2 separate regions of the Homo sapiens genome follow, and region 1 is linked to region 2. The links are contacts of gene promoters, found by promoter capture Hi-C in human tissues and cell types (Jung and others, 2019). All regions are on one chromosome and are shown on one strand. The core of a region is centred on a gene start or on the middle of the fragment in contact, and the rest is flanking DNA. Distances in the headings are between cores, read along the strand shown.

Evidence for each region. The method cuts DNA at HindIII sites, captures the fragments that hold promoters and counts their contacts. A contact is called where the count stands out against the background at its distance.
Region 1: a contact is called between a fragment that was not itself captured here and the fragment with the promoter of CNPPD1 in region 2, in 1 of the 25 tissues and cell types used here (heart right ventricle).

What each region holds. Positions count from the first base shown.
Region 1 is chr2:218,302,504-218,308,813 of GRCh38, reverse strand. All of the region lies in intron 2 of PNKD (PNKD metallo-beta-lactamase domain containing), which reads right to left. It overlaps LOC105373881 (a long non-coding RNA gene), which reads left to right. Exons shown (of 3, transcript XR_923914.3): 3 at 2,266-2,444. Among named protein-coding and RNA genes, the nearest start is that of TMBIM1, 13 kb to the right of the region's middle. The HindIII fragment of the contact is 5,019 bases long and covers 803-5,821 here.
Region 2 is chr2:219,174,827-219,181,445 of GRCh38, reverse strand. CNPPD1 (cyclin Pas1/PHO80 domain containing 1) reads left to right here and starts at 4,521. Exons shown (of 8, transcript NM_015680.6): 1 at 4,521-4,686; 2 at 5,115-5,223; 3 at 5,774-5,855; 4 at 6,338-6,458; 5 at 6,540-6,619. The coding sequence starts at 4,618. It overlaps RETREG2 (reticulophagy regulator family member 2), which reads right to left and starts at 3,171. Exons shown (of 9, transcript NM_024293.6): 1 at 2,813-3,171; 2 at 2,418-2,524; 3 at 1,683-1,713; 4 at 1,201-1,336; 5 at 692-776; 6 at 241-384; 7 at 1-77. The coding sequence starts at 3,093. RefSeq lists silencers at 2,737-2,806, 4,257-4,306, 4,377-4,586, 4,707-4,766, 4,605-4,899 and 2 more and an enhancer at 2,976-3,476. The HindIII fragment of the contact is 7,594 bases long and covers 1-6,619 here.

The DNA.
Region 1 (6,310 bases), core at 2,063-4,562, 870 kb after region 2:
CAGGAGTTTGAGACCAGCCTGGCCAACATGGTGAAACCCTGTCTACTAAAAATACAAAAATTAGCTGAGGGGTGGTGGCAGCTCCTGTAATCCCAGCTACTCAGGTGGCTGAGGCAGGAGAATCGCTTGAACCCGGGAGGTGGAGGTTGCGGTGAGCCGAGATTATGCTATTGCACTCCAGCCTGGGTGATAGAGCAATACTCGTCTAAAAAAAAAAAAGAAAGAAAGAAAGTAGTGGAGAAAAAAATAGGACACAAAACTGGGTAAATTTTGAATAACTGATACGATTGTACCTCTGTAAACAAAAATGGATTAAAAAAAATCTAAGGCTGGGCACGGTGGCTCGTGCCTGTAATCCCAGCACTTTGGGAGGCTGAGGCGGGCAGATCACAAGCTTAGGAGTTTGAGAACAGCCTGGCCAATATGGTGAAACCCCGTCTCTACTAAAAATACAAAAATTAGTTGGGTGTAGTGGCGGGTGCCTGAATCATCCCAGCTACTCAGGAGGCTGAGGCAGGAAAACCACTTGAATCTGAGAGGCAGAGGTTACAGTGAGCCGAGATGGCACCACTGCACATCTGAGTGATGTGCAGTGAGACTCTGTCTCAAAAAAAAAAAAAAAAAATCTAAAATGCTTCCAGTCATAATCTTTGGTTGATTGACTCATGGGGTACCATTTGTTTATTATTTTTTTGTGCTTTTAAAATATTTTCTGATCTTCTATAATGAAAACATATTAGTATTTTAATTTTTAAAATTATTATTTTATTAAAACAAAGAAAGTAGTCCTCTCTGCTGTCTCTACCTTTCACTTCACGTCCATTCTCAGGCCACTCAACTGGGCCCCTGCCTGTACTGCTCCATCCTAATTTGGCGCTGTCCCCTTGAAGGTCAAACCCATTTGTCATTGTTCAGCCCTTATCACTGAACCTCTGGGTGGCAGCTATGACAATGGAGCATGCCTTTTTCCTCTGCCTTCCCTGCCACAGTCTCTCTGGCTCTCCTCTCCCCTCTCTGACAAGCTCCCCTTCTGCTAGCTCTAAATTCACCACTTACAGGCTACCACCTGTATACTCATTACTTCAAAGGAGAAATGTCCACAAGAGCCTCCCTTGGATGCCCCACGGTAGGGGTCCCCAACCGCTTCCCTCCAACCCTATACTGGTCCTTGGTCTGTTAGGAGCCAGGCCACACAGCAGGACAGGCAAAGCTTTACCTGTATTTACAGCTGCTCCACATTGCTTGCATTACCCTCTGAGCTCCACCTCCTGTCAGATCAGCAGCAGCATTAGATTCTCATAGGAGCTCGCACCCTATTGTGAACTGCGCATGTGAGGGATGTAGGTTACATGCTCCTTATGAGAATCTAATGCCTGATGATCTGTCACTGTCTCCCATCAATCCCAGATGGGACCATCCAGCTGCTGGAAAACAAGCTCAGGGTTCCCATTGATTGTACCTTATGGTGAGTTGTATGATTATTTTATTATATATTACAATGTAATAATAATAGAAATCTAGTGCACAATAAATGTAATGCGCTTGAATCATCCCGAACCCCCCTAACCCCATTGCCTCCCCCAGTCCCTGGAAAAACTGCCTTCCATGAAACTGGTCCCTGGTGCCAAAAATGCTGGGGACTGCTGCCACACGGGATCTTTAACTTGATTTGTCCAAAGCTACCTCCTCATCCTCATGTGACCCCAACCCTCTCCTTCAGGTCTGCCAACTTGGCCAACGGCATCATCTGTGTTTCCAGATGATTTTGCCCAACTGTAAACGAATGTCATTGTTTTGTGCATGTTTAAGGCAGGCTAGGCTAGGCTATGATGTTTGGTAGGTTTAGGTGTATTTAATGCATTTTCCACTTAGGATATTTTCAATTTAGGATGAGTTTATTGGGATGTAACCACTCTATAAGTTAGGAAGCATCTGTGTTTGTCAGATGACCAAACAAACCAATCCCGACACCTAGCTCCTGGGTGAGGGCATCTCTTAGGCCTAGGTAATGACTTGCACACTTCATTGCACACATGTCTCTGTGATGGTCCTTAGGCTGTGCAGTAATTCCTGGCGCTGCCCCATAACACTTCAAGTGCCTTGTGGGTAAGGAGGGTGAACTGTCGGGGAGGGAGTGGAATCGGGTTTGGGGGTTGTGTGCTAGACTTGGAATGACCAGCTTAGAACCCTGGCTCCACTAGGAACTCTGCACCTTGGGGCAATGTTCTTAATCTACTCAAACCTCATTCTCTTTCTCTCCACGAGGGACTGGTAATTTGCATGGAGCTACTCGGAGGATTAACCGTGATTACCCAGAGAAAGGACACCTTGCCTGGGCCGTTTCAAGTACTCCACACATGTTCCTTGATATTATTGATCTCATTCTTGCAACATCAGCATCTGTCCTGGTGGGTGCTCAAGTAAATATTTTATGACTGAAATGATAAGAGGGTGTGACCTTTGCCTCCATTTCCCATTGCATCATCCCAAATCAGGCCCTTGGGTCCTCATGCCTGGCCCATTGCAGGCACCTGCAGCCCCTAGCCATCAGTTTCAAGCAGGGGCTCCCCCTGCTCAAAGCCAGTGTCTACACAATCAAATTTGCATCCCTTGTTTTAGCGACATGGTCTCAGCCCAGTTCTCTAGTGTGTGGCGTTCCTGCTGCTCCCCTCCACATGTGTCCCGTCTGCCAGCCTGCCCTGATCACTATCCTAGATTTCTGCCCCATGCCACCTGGAGAAATCCTTTTAGGCAGCTTCCTCAAGATACCAGGTACCTTCCAGCCCTACCATGCCCCCGGGGATGTGATACCCTTCCAGGAGTAACCATAACTAATGAAGGTCCAATTCTCAATCTAGGGAGTCTGGCAGCTCTCAACAGAGGAGGGAGGAGAATGAGTTCAGTTCTCAAGGAGGCTGATAATGCCTTTCCTTTTAGTCCAGTTTCTTTAAGGCTAAAAATAAATTCAACCTCCTCTTCGAAGGCTTTTCTGATTACCACAATTATTTGCACTGCCTGGTCACTACTCTAACTCCAGACCCTGGAAAAAATGTCATCTCACAGCCAAACAGAAACGAATGGTTTGGCTATGGTGGGGGCGGAAGGGGGCACACCCAGAGGAGCCATAGCCTTTTCTTTACAAGACTCTGACCTCTGGGCTGGGGGTGGTGGCTCATGCATGTAATCCCAGCACTTTGGAAGGCCAAGGCGGGATGATGGATCGGAAAATTGTCTAGAAATTCAAGACCAGCCTGGGCAACACAGTGAGACCCCACCTCTACAAAAAATTAAAAAAAAAAATAGCCAGACATGGCATGCACCTGTGGTCCCAGTTACTTGAGTGGCTGAGGCAAGACGATTGCTTGAGGTCAGAGGTTGATGCTGCAGTGAACTATGATTTTGCCACTGCACTCCAGCCTGAGTGACAGAGTAAGACCCTGTCTCAGAAACAAACAAACATACAAACTAACAGGCAAAAACAAGACTGAGCTCTCCCTGTAGGCAAAAAATGGCGGCCTCCACTTGTTTGTCTCTCCCTCATCCCCAGCACCTTGCACTGGGCTTGATGCATGCAGTGTGATAAATGTTTGTTCTGTTGTGTGGGAAGGAAGAACAGAACAACCGAGTGTAGACTGTCTACTGAGCACAAGGCCTGCGCACAGCCCTTGCACGTGGGATTTCATTGTCACGACTCTATAAGGAAGGTGATGGTCGCCCCACTTTATTTATTTATTTATTTTTGAGATGGAGTCTTGCTCTGTCACCCAGGCTGGAGTGCAGTGGCGCGATCTCAGCTCACTGCAACCTCTACCTCCCAGGTTCAAGTGATTCTCCTGCCTTAGCCTCCCGAGTAGCTGGGACTACAGGTGCCCGCCACCACGCCTGGCTAATTTTTGTGTTTCACCAAGATGGGGTTTCACCATGTTGGCCAGGCTGGTCTCGAACTCCTGACCTCAAGTGATCCACCCACCTCAGCCTCCCAAAGTGCTGGGATTACAGGCATGAGCCACTGTGCCCGGCCAGTCGCCCCACTTTAGAGATGAACAAACGAAGGCTTGGAGAGAATAATGACTCATACCATCACAGGCGACAAAACCCAAATTCAATTATGGTTTTATTTGACCCCCAATTCCATGCTCTTTCCACTGATCCTCTGTAACCAGCCTGGGTAGAAAACATGTGTCAGTGTCTGCTGGGAAACAGATGACACAGGCAAACTGGGAAAGCTGAGGAGAGCTTGAGAGAAGTTAAGTTTTAGTGCTCTGCAAGGCTACCGGCAGGTGCTGGAAACAGTTCTCCAGGCTAGTGACACTGTCGCCACCCCTGGGCCTGAAGGGTCAGGAAGGGAGCTGTTATAAAACATAAAGACAGGTTGGGTGCGGTGGCTCATGCCTGTAATCCCAGCACTTTGGGAGGCCGAGGCGGGTGGATGACCTGAGGTTAGGAGTTCCAGACCAGCCTGGTCAACATGGTGAAACCCTGTCTCTACTAAAAATACAAAAAATCAGGCATGGTGGCAGGCATCTGTAATCCCAGCTACTTGGGAGGCTGAGGCAGGAGAATCGCTTGAACTGGGAGGTTGCAGTGAGCTGAGACCACGCCACTGCACTCCAGCCTGGGCAACAAGAGCGAAACTCTGTCTCAAAAACAAAAAACAAAGACAGAGCTGTGTGGACAGGCCCAACTGATAGGGGCTGTGACCACTGGTTGAGGGATAAGCCAGTCTGGGGTGAGCCTTGAGGGAGGGAGAAGGAGACAAACCCTCCACCTCTGCTGCCATCTCCTCCTGGAGAGCTCCACTGCCAAACTCAGCTGCAGCTGGAGGACCAAGAGCCCACTGAGGTGTCCATAGGACCAGCTCCAAGCAGGGTGGAGAAGACGGAGGGGGATGTGGAGAGCAAACGGAAACCAGCCAAATGAAACCAAAGAAGTGCGGGTCTGGCCGGGCGTGGTGGCTCACACCTGTAATCCCAGCACTTTGGGAGGCTGAGGCAGGTGGATCATGAGGTCAGGAGTTCAAGACTAGCCTGGCCAAGATGGTGAAACCCCATCTCTACTAAAAATACAAAAATTAGCTGGGCATGGTGGTGGGCACCTGTAATCCCAGCTACTCAGGAGGCTGAGGCAGAGAATCGCTTGAACCCAGGAGGCAGAGGTTGCAGTGAGCCGAGATCATGCCACTGCATTCCAGCCTGGGCAACAGAGCAAGACTCTGCTCAAAAAAAAAAAAAAAAAAAAAGAAGTGCAGGTCTGGGATGGGGGTCGTGGGGTATTGACACCTCAGGGTGGGGGCTGGTGCCACCACCTTTCATCTTGTAGCCAAGGTGGCTCCTCAAGGCCTTCCTGCTCTCGGGCTCCATTCCCTCAACCCATTCACCGCTCAGAGCCAGGGTGATTCTCCTAAAATACCACCCAGATCATGTCCCATGTCCCAGCCCTGCTCAAAATCACTCAATGGCTTCCTTTGTAAACCAAAAATAAAATTCAATGCCCCCTCACCTCAGCCATCTGAATGGACTCCCTCCTCTGCCAGGGCATTCCAAAGTTAACCTGAAAGACTGGTTCAGGGCTGGGCTGGTGGCTCACACCTGTAATCCCAAGGATTACACTTTTGGGAGGCCAAGGTGGGCAGATCACTGAGGCCAGGAGTTCAAGACCATCCTGGCCAACATGGTGAAAACCTGTCTCTACTAAAAATACAAACAAATTAGCTGGGCATGGTGGTGGGCACCTGTAATCCCAGCTACTTGGGAGGCTGAGGCAGAAGAATCACTTGAACCTGGCAGGCAGAAGTTGCAGTGAGCTAAGATGGCACAACTGCACTCCAGCCTGGGGAACAGAGTGAGACTCCATAAAACAAACAAACAAACAAACGAACAAACAGAAAAAAAACCTCCAGGCCTTTAGGTAACTCTTTTAATCAATTGCCAATCAGAAAATTTTTAAATCTACCTATAACCTGGAAGCTCCCTTCAACACACACATACATTCTGCGCCCCTGTCCCCCCGCCCTGACTACCTTGGGCCACGTGTTCTCAGGGTCTCCTGAGGGCTGTGTCAAGGGCCATAGTCGCTCATATTTGGTTCAGAATAAATTTCTTCAAATATTTTACAGAGTTTGAATGTTTTCATTGATATCTTTAGGCTGAAATTTGAAGTCCTTAAAGAGGCCCTGAGACTCTGTAGACCTGGCCCCTGCCACCTCCCCAGTCTCCTCTTGGGCCATGCCCCAGTGCCCACCACTCTCCAGCCACACCACTCTCCTGGAAGTTTCTGGAACATGCCAAGCTCTTTCAGCTTCAGGGGTGTC
Region 2 (6,619 bases), core at 3,272-5,771:
CAGCTCTGCCTCGCTTTCACTCTCTGTCTCTGCCAGTGGCTCATCACCTCCTGGGGGTGCATTCTTCCCCTGACGCTCTAGAAAAGCAAGAGTAGTAGAGCAATGACCAAGCATGAATGATGGGAGGGGAGACAAACACAGCTAAAGAACTGGAGAAGATCTCAATTCCAGGGCATCTCATGAACCCCAAGCCAAGGCCCTCCCGCTCTTTCACCCTCCTGGCTTAGGGCAGCCCCTTACTCCTCTTGTCGTGTTTGTGATGCAGGGCATTGGCTTCTGCCTTCATGCTGTAGTCCAGCTGCATGAGCAGGGGCTCCAGGCGAGTGTACATCCTCTGGATCAGCTCATGATAAACCACCAGGGGCCACAGCAGGATACTCAACACTATGGGTTAAGAACGTGAACTAAGAGCTCCCTACGCCAATTTCCTAAGAGCCCCCATTCAACTGGTCCCTAAACTGAAGTGCTGAAGGTAGGCAAGGTCCTTTCCCAAGGCTGTGCCAACCTCTTCTTGCCACATCCACTGCCCTCCTCCCCAGGTAAGTCTTCCACAGTTACTAATACTAAAGCATCCCTGGAGATCTCCACAAATCAGAAACTGAGCAGAGAGAGCATAGTCTTCCCTCTGGGTCAGTCCAAGGAAAGAAGAAAGGAGAGGGCTTTAAATAGGGCAGGGACAGACCCTACTCACAGACAATGTAGGAAATCATAATCCCTGGAACATAGTGTCCCAACACAGCCAACACAGCACAGCCAGAGCAGACTCGAACGCAGAACTGCAGAGAAGAGCAAAAGTCTAAGAACATCACGCTGAGATATGCGCCCCGCTCGGCTGGGTAAGAAACTACTGCTCAGCTGGTAGAAGGATGGGTATGTACTCAAGGAATGGGGTGGTCCAGTTTGGTTAAGAGGATGCTCAAGACCACCAATTCAGGAAGCTGGCAATACATAATGCCCACCACCTGTAATTCACACTGGTCTGCCTTGGCAGGAGAAAGTGTCAGGCTATCAAAAGCTTATTTCCTGAGGTGAGACTGCCTCCTGCACCAGGGATTAGCTGTGAATGTTGCCTCAAGAAGGCGCCCAGGCCTCTTCTTTCAGGGTCTCCAAGCGGGGAGTTTATATCACTCCACTCCCATCCCCCGCCACCTCTATTCCCCTTCAGTGTAGTGAACTGTTGTATGATGTAGGGGAGGTTACCTGAGCTGGATTCTGCCTCTTGTACTGCAGCAGCTCCTGCAGGTGAATCTGGAAGGTGAGCCAGCTCTCAGCCAGGTATCTGCACAACTCGGGCACACTCAGCAGGTGCGGCCGGGCGCCTGACCCCGCACCCTCACTGGGGAGACATGACATGACCCCTGGAGGCCTCAGATACCAGCTTCCTAGACACTTAAATCCCTCTGAGAATGCCAAAGATATCTTTAGTCTAAAAAAGCAAATGACCCCACCTCTCAAAAGGAGGCTGTCCTGGTCTTAGAAGCAAAGCCAGGAGGACCCAACCCTCTGCCCCAAAAGGAGCAGGCACGCAAACACCTACACAGGAGCCTAGGACCATGAAAAACCCATGGCTTGTTACCAGTTCATTCACAATGCTGGGGCACTGCCCTGCTCCATGGTGACACTGGCACCAGCAAGCAGGACAGGATGTGGGCATTTGTCTTCAAGAGGTGGCCTGTACTCACCTGTCAGAGTGTGGCTCCTCTGGGGATGATGCTAGAGAGAGAGGAGGGGGGCAAATTATTGAGTGGTAGGGGCCCTGGGAGACACTCCCCAAGGCAGAAATAGTTGTCCCTCCTCTGCAGCCCCAGAGCACCTTCTTCAGATGCCAATGGGGGAGCTGTTACATGTTTTTGTTTGCGTCTGTCTCCTTTAGACATTACCCTTCTCCAACATAAGAACTAGATTTTACTCATGCTTATCTCCCAAGCAACTCACATACAGCCTGTCACCTACTAAGTAAATTATATGGATAACAAGAAAAACAACACTGACGTTCTATTTATAAGGCTTATATGTGAAACACTATCATAAGTATAGCATGTGTATTAACTCATTAATCCTCTCCTCACCTCTCTATGAAGTAAGTTCTATCATCTGTGTTTTACAGATAAGGAAATTGAGACAAACAGAAATTGAGCTACTTTTACAAGGTCACAGCAATGGTAAATGGCAGAACAGAGAATGGAACCCAGGTAATATGGCTGCAGACTTCACCATCTTAACCACTGCACCTACAGTAGTATTAGTTTGGGAAAGGGGCAATTCTCATTTTAGGGAATTCCGTACAAAAAGGAAGTGGGCCATGCCTGGGAGGCAGGTGGCCTGCTGTACGTTCCCCTCGCCACTTAACCCCACCCAGCGGAATCAGGCACCAAGCAAGTACCCAATGGGTGCTTACTGAATGAAGAAACACTCACCTGAAACGTCAGGGAGAAAGCGAGGCTGCCAGAGATCCAGCAGAAAATAGGCCAAAAGTGAGACGCTGAGTAGGAAGAAGGGCCGGAGGGACGAGGAAGACAGCAACCTTAGGGAGAGACAGGCACCTCAGCAGTGAGTGGGTGAGACAGGCTCATGCATCCATCTCAGAAGGTGGAAAGGCGCCTACTGATGGGGTAATGGCACCTCCAGGCCTAACTCGCGACTCACGACTCAGAGATAGAAAAAAATGGGCAATTCAAGCGGATGTCAGCCTGCAAAAACTGGGGATGGGTCATGCCCCCAGGCCAAGTGATAACCCAGAAAGGGGAATGGTGCTCTCGACCCCTCCCTCCCCCGCTCATCCCGGCCCCGCCCCCTCCTCCGCGGCCGTTACCAGAAGAGGCCGTTGAGCGCGGCCGCCGTGACCAGGCTGTGCAGCGGCTTCTCCCACACCAGCAACCGCTGCGCCGCCGCCAGCACCGCCTCCCAGCCGCGGAGCCGCAGCCACAGCGTCGTGGCCAGGCGTCCCACCGCCTCGGCCGTGGCCGCCTCCTCCTCTGCCTCACTGGTGGCCTCACTCATGCCTAGGCTCAGACCCAGACCCAGGCCCAGGCTCAGGCCCATCCCCGGCCCCCCACCCGCGCCAGTGTTACCCCCGCCACCGCCGCTCGCCATAGCCCCGCCGCAGCCGCCGCCCGAGCCCGCGAGGAGCCAGGGCTGCGCGGCCGCCGCCGGGGGCGCGTCAGGCGGAAGGGGGCGCCGCGGAGGACAGCAGAGGTTGCGGACGAGCGTCACGTGACTGCGGAGCGCTGAGCCCGTCACGTGACGCGGCCTAACCCCCCCCCCCCCGGATAGGGCGGGCCGCGCATGCGCCCCGGCGGCTGCCGCTGACACTGCGCCTACACAGGTTCGTTTTCTGGTTGACGAAGTACCCCGGGTTCCGAGTCCGGGTCTAGGTCCAGGCAGTCGAGCCCGTTTTCTTATCCCACAGTAGGCAGGGCGGCTAGGGAGTGTGGTGCTGCCCCGGTATCCCCGTGTGGGGCAGGAAGTGGGCTTCCAGATTCCCAGTATCCCCGGTAGGGTCTGCTTCTGCTCGCTCGGGAAGGGCGGTGGCCGTCCCATTACTCAACCAACCCTCAACGCACTGGTCCTCCCAGTTCCCTCCCCTCAGTGGGTAAACAAACACACACCAGCGCTTGACTCGACAGACTCGAAAACAACATCTACTCAGAAAAGTTGTTTCTTTCCTATCTCCTTAAACTTTCCCACTTCCACATATCGGAGCTTCTTCCCACCTCGGCCTACTCAAGCATGAGATCGGAGGCGGGAGGTGGGTTTCAACACAAAACCTTGGGTAGATGCAGTTTACTTTTGGGTGGACGTGTTGACACGTTTTGAGGCCTTACATTCGCTTAAGATCACAGAATTTCCTCAGTAGCCTTAGGTTTAAAAGTTCAAATTACAGTAAAAAAAAAAAACACCCTGAGTTTCTCTTCCTTTTCATAGTTCACCCACTGCTAAATTTCCTGTGTGTCCTTTCAGACGCTTTTCATATGCATTGCTGAGTATGTATAATATCTCTCCTAAAAAGCAACTGGGAACAACTTCCTGTTGTGCGTTTCGTCTTATTCACATTAACTTCTCCATTGCTACGCCTGGCTTGTTCATCCTCAGTGCGGCGTGGTCCCCCCTACGAATTGTCCCCATTTCTCAGAGGCGCCTGGGGCTTGGCCACGTTCCGTGAGACCAGGAGTTCGAGTCCGGTTCCTGCCCGCGGGTCGGGGCGGGAGGCTGGGCCAGATGGGCGGCAGGAAGTGCCAGGCGCTGACTTGCAGGCGGCACCCCCGCGGCTTGTAAACGCCGGGCGGACGCGGCACAGGCGGAGTACGCGCCTCGCAGCCGCATCTCCTTTCTGCTCCGCGAGGTGAGCGTCGCACGGACGCTTGACACCTCCCTTCCCGGGCCTAGGGCCCCCGCGCGCCGCGCCAAGCCCGGGGCGGAACAGGAAGAGGCGCCCAGTTCAGCCCGGGCCCCGCCTTCCGCCGCCGGGGGGAGGGAGCTGCGAGGGCGAGGGCGAGGACGGCGGCCCGCCCCGGGGAGGCAGGCTGGCAGGTGGACAGGCGGGCAAGGACAGCTCCGCGAGCCCCCTACAACTCGTTTCCTTCCGTTCACCTTCGCAGGGCGGCGACTGGCGGCGCGATGGACCTGACCGGGCTCCTGCTGGACGAAGAAGGCACCTTCTCCCTCGCCGGCTTCCAGGACTTCACGGTGAGTGGGGGTCCCGCCCCCTCCCCGGCCTCCCGGCGCGCCCCTCCCGGCCTGAGCGGCGCTGCGAGCTCGCCTGACTGCTGTGCCGGGACTGGGCGGCAGCTGCTCGAGCAGTGCTTCCTTGAGGCCGCGGCTGCTTGGGCCGGGAGGGAGAGCCGCGGAGTATAGGAATGGGCGTAGGGGTGGCCACACGAGGGCCCTTCTCGGAGAACTTCTCCCGGGGAACCCTCGATGGGGGTGGGGGCATTCCTCCCTCTATGGACCAGGCTGCCATTGGCAAGCGATTTACAGAACGCGGGTCTGGGTAAGGCACGGGCCCCCTAGCAGCGAGGCCGGCCTGTCCCCTGCCCCGCCTTCCAGCCCAGAGCCAGGATCTGCATCATACCTTTCCGTGCCCTTCACCCTCCGCTGCCCCTGCCCTGTTTCAGTTCCTCCCAGGACACCAGAAGCTGAGTGCCCGGATCCGAAGGAGGCTCTACTATGGCTGGGACTGGGAAGCCGACTGTAGCCTGGAGGAGCTCTCCAGCCCGGTGGCAGGTTAGGCAGTGTTGTGTGACTGGACAAGTGAGAAGCATGAAAATGGGATTGTCATCAGGCAGAAAATGGCTCGAGGTTTGCCCCGTGGCTACACTGTCTCTTCATTGCTAGCTCGTTGGTACTTGGTTCAAGAGGGCAGTTTGCATTTCCCATTCTTTTAGCCCAAATGAATAAAAAACATTGCTGCCACATATATCTATACAAATCACTCTTGATTTATATATTGAAAAGCTAATTTTCGAAGGATATCCATCATATGTTCCCCAAGTAAACAAGGCATGTTTATGCCACAGATGAACAGCAGTGACAGATAAATCTGGATAGTTTGATGTGACAGGGCAATAAGCTTTCCTGTTAGAATGAGCTGAAATTCGAACTTGGAATGGGCTTTTTGTCTCAGTGTGTGAGAATTTGATCTCTATTTTGTTACTATGGTCCTGTCCCCAAGGCCTCAGAAAATACAGATCTGGGTCTTCTGCTAGCAGTGGGGACTGGTGTGTTGGGTGTGGGTGCTTGTTTGCTCACTCGGCCTTCCTTCTGTCCCTTGCAGACATTGCTGTCGAACTGCTCCAGAAGGCAGCCCCCAGCCCTATTCGCCGACTCCAGAAGAAATATGTAGCTCATGTGTCCCGGTGAGCCTGGAAATGAGGATAGGATGAGAGTGTTTGGGCCCTAGAGAAAGGGGAATCGTCTTTTCTTTCTTTTCTTTCTTTCTTTTTTTTTTTTTTGAGACAGTCTCACTTTGTCACCCAGGCTGGAGTGCAGTGGCACAATCTCGGCTCACCGCAACCTCCGCCTCCTGGGTTCCAGTGATTCTTGTGCCTCAGCCTCCCCAGTAGCTGGGACTACAGGCACACACCACCGCCCCTGGCTAATTTTTGTATTTTTAGTAAAGACGGGGTTTCACCATGTTGGCCAGGCTGGTGTCAAACTCCTGGTGTCAGTCCACCCACCTTGGTCTTCCAAAGTGCTGGGATTACAGACATGAGCCACCGTGCCCAGCCAGGAATAGTTTTTTTCCAAAGATAAGAGGTAAAGACAGGAACGAGCATCATAAGACTTGCAAGAGCTGAAGGACCCTTGGGTTTAATTAGTGATCCTTTCTACCACCCAGGGAGGCATGCATCTCCCCATGTGCTATGATGCTGGCTCTGGTGTACATTGAACGGCTCCGGCACCGAAACCCAGACTACTTGCAGCATGTGTCATCCTCTGACTTGTTCCTGATCTCCATGGTAAGACACCCCCTCCCCATCTCCCTAAAGAGCCAAGAGCCTGCTATGAGCTCTGCTCCACCACTTCTGGTTCCTCTGCAGATGGTGGCCAGTAAGTACCTCTATGATGAAGGGGAGGAGGAGGAGGTCTTCAACGACGAATGGGGAGCTGCTGGGGGTGT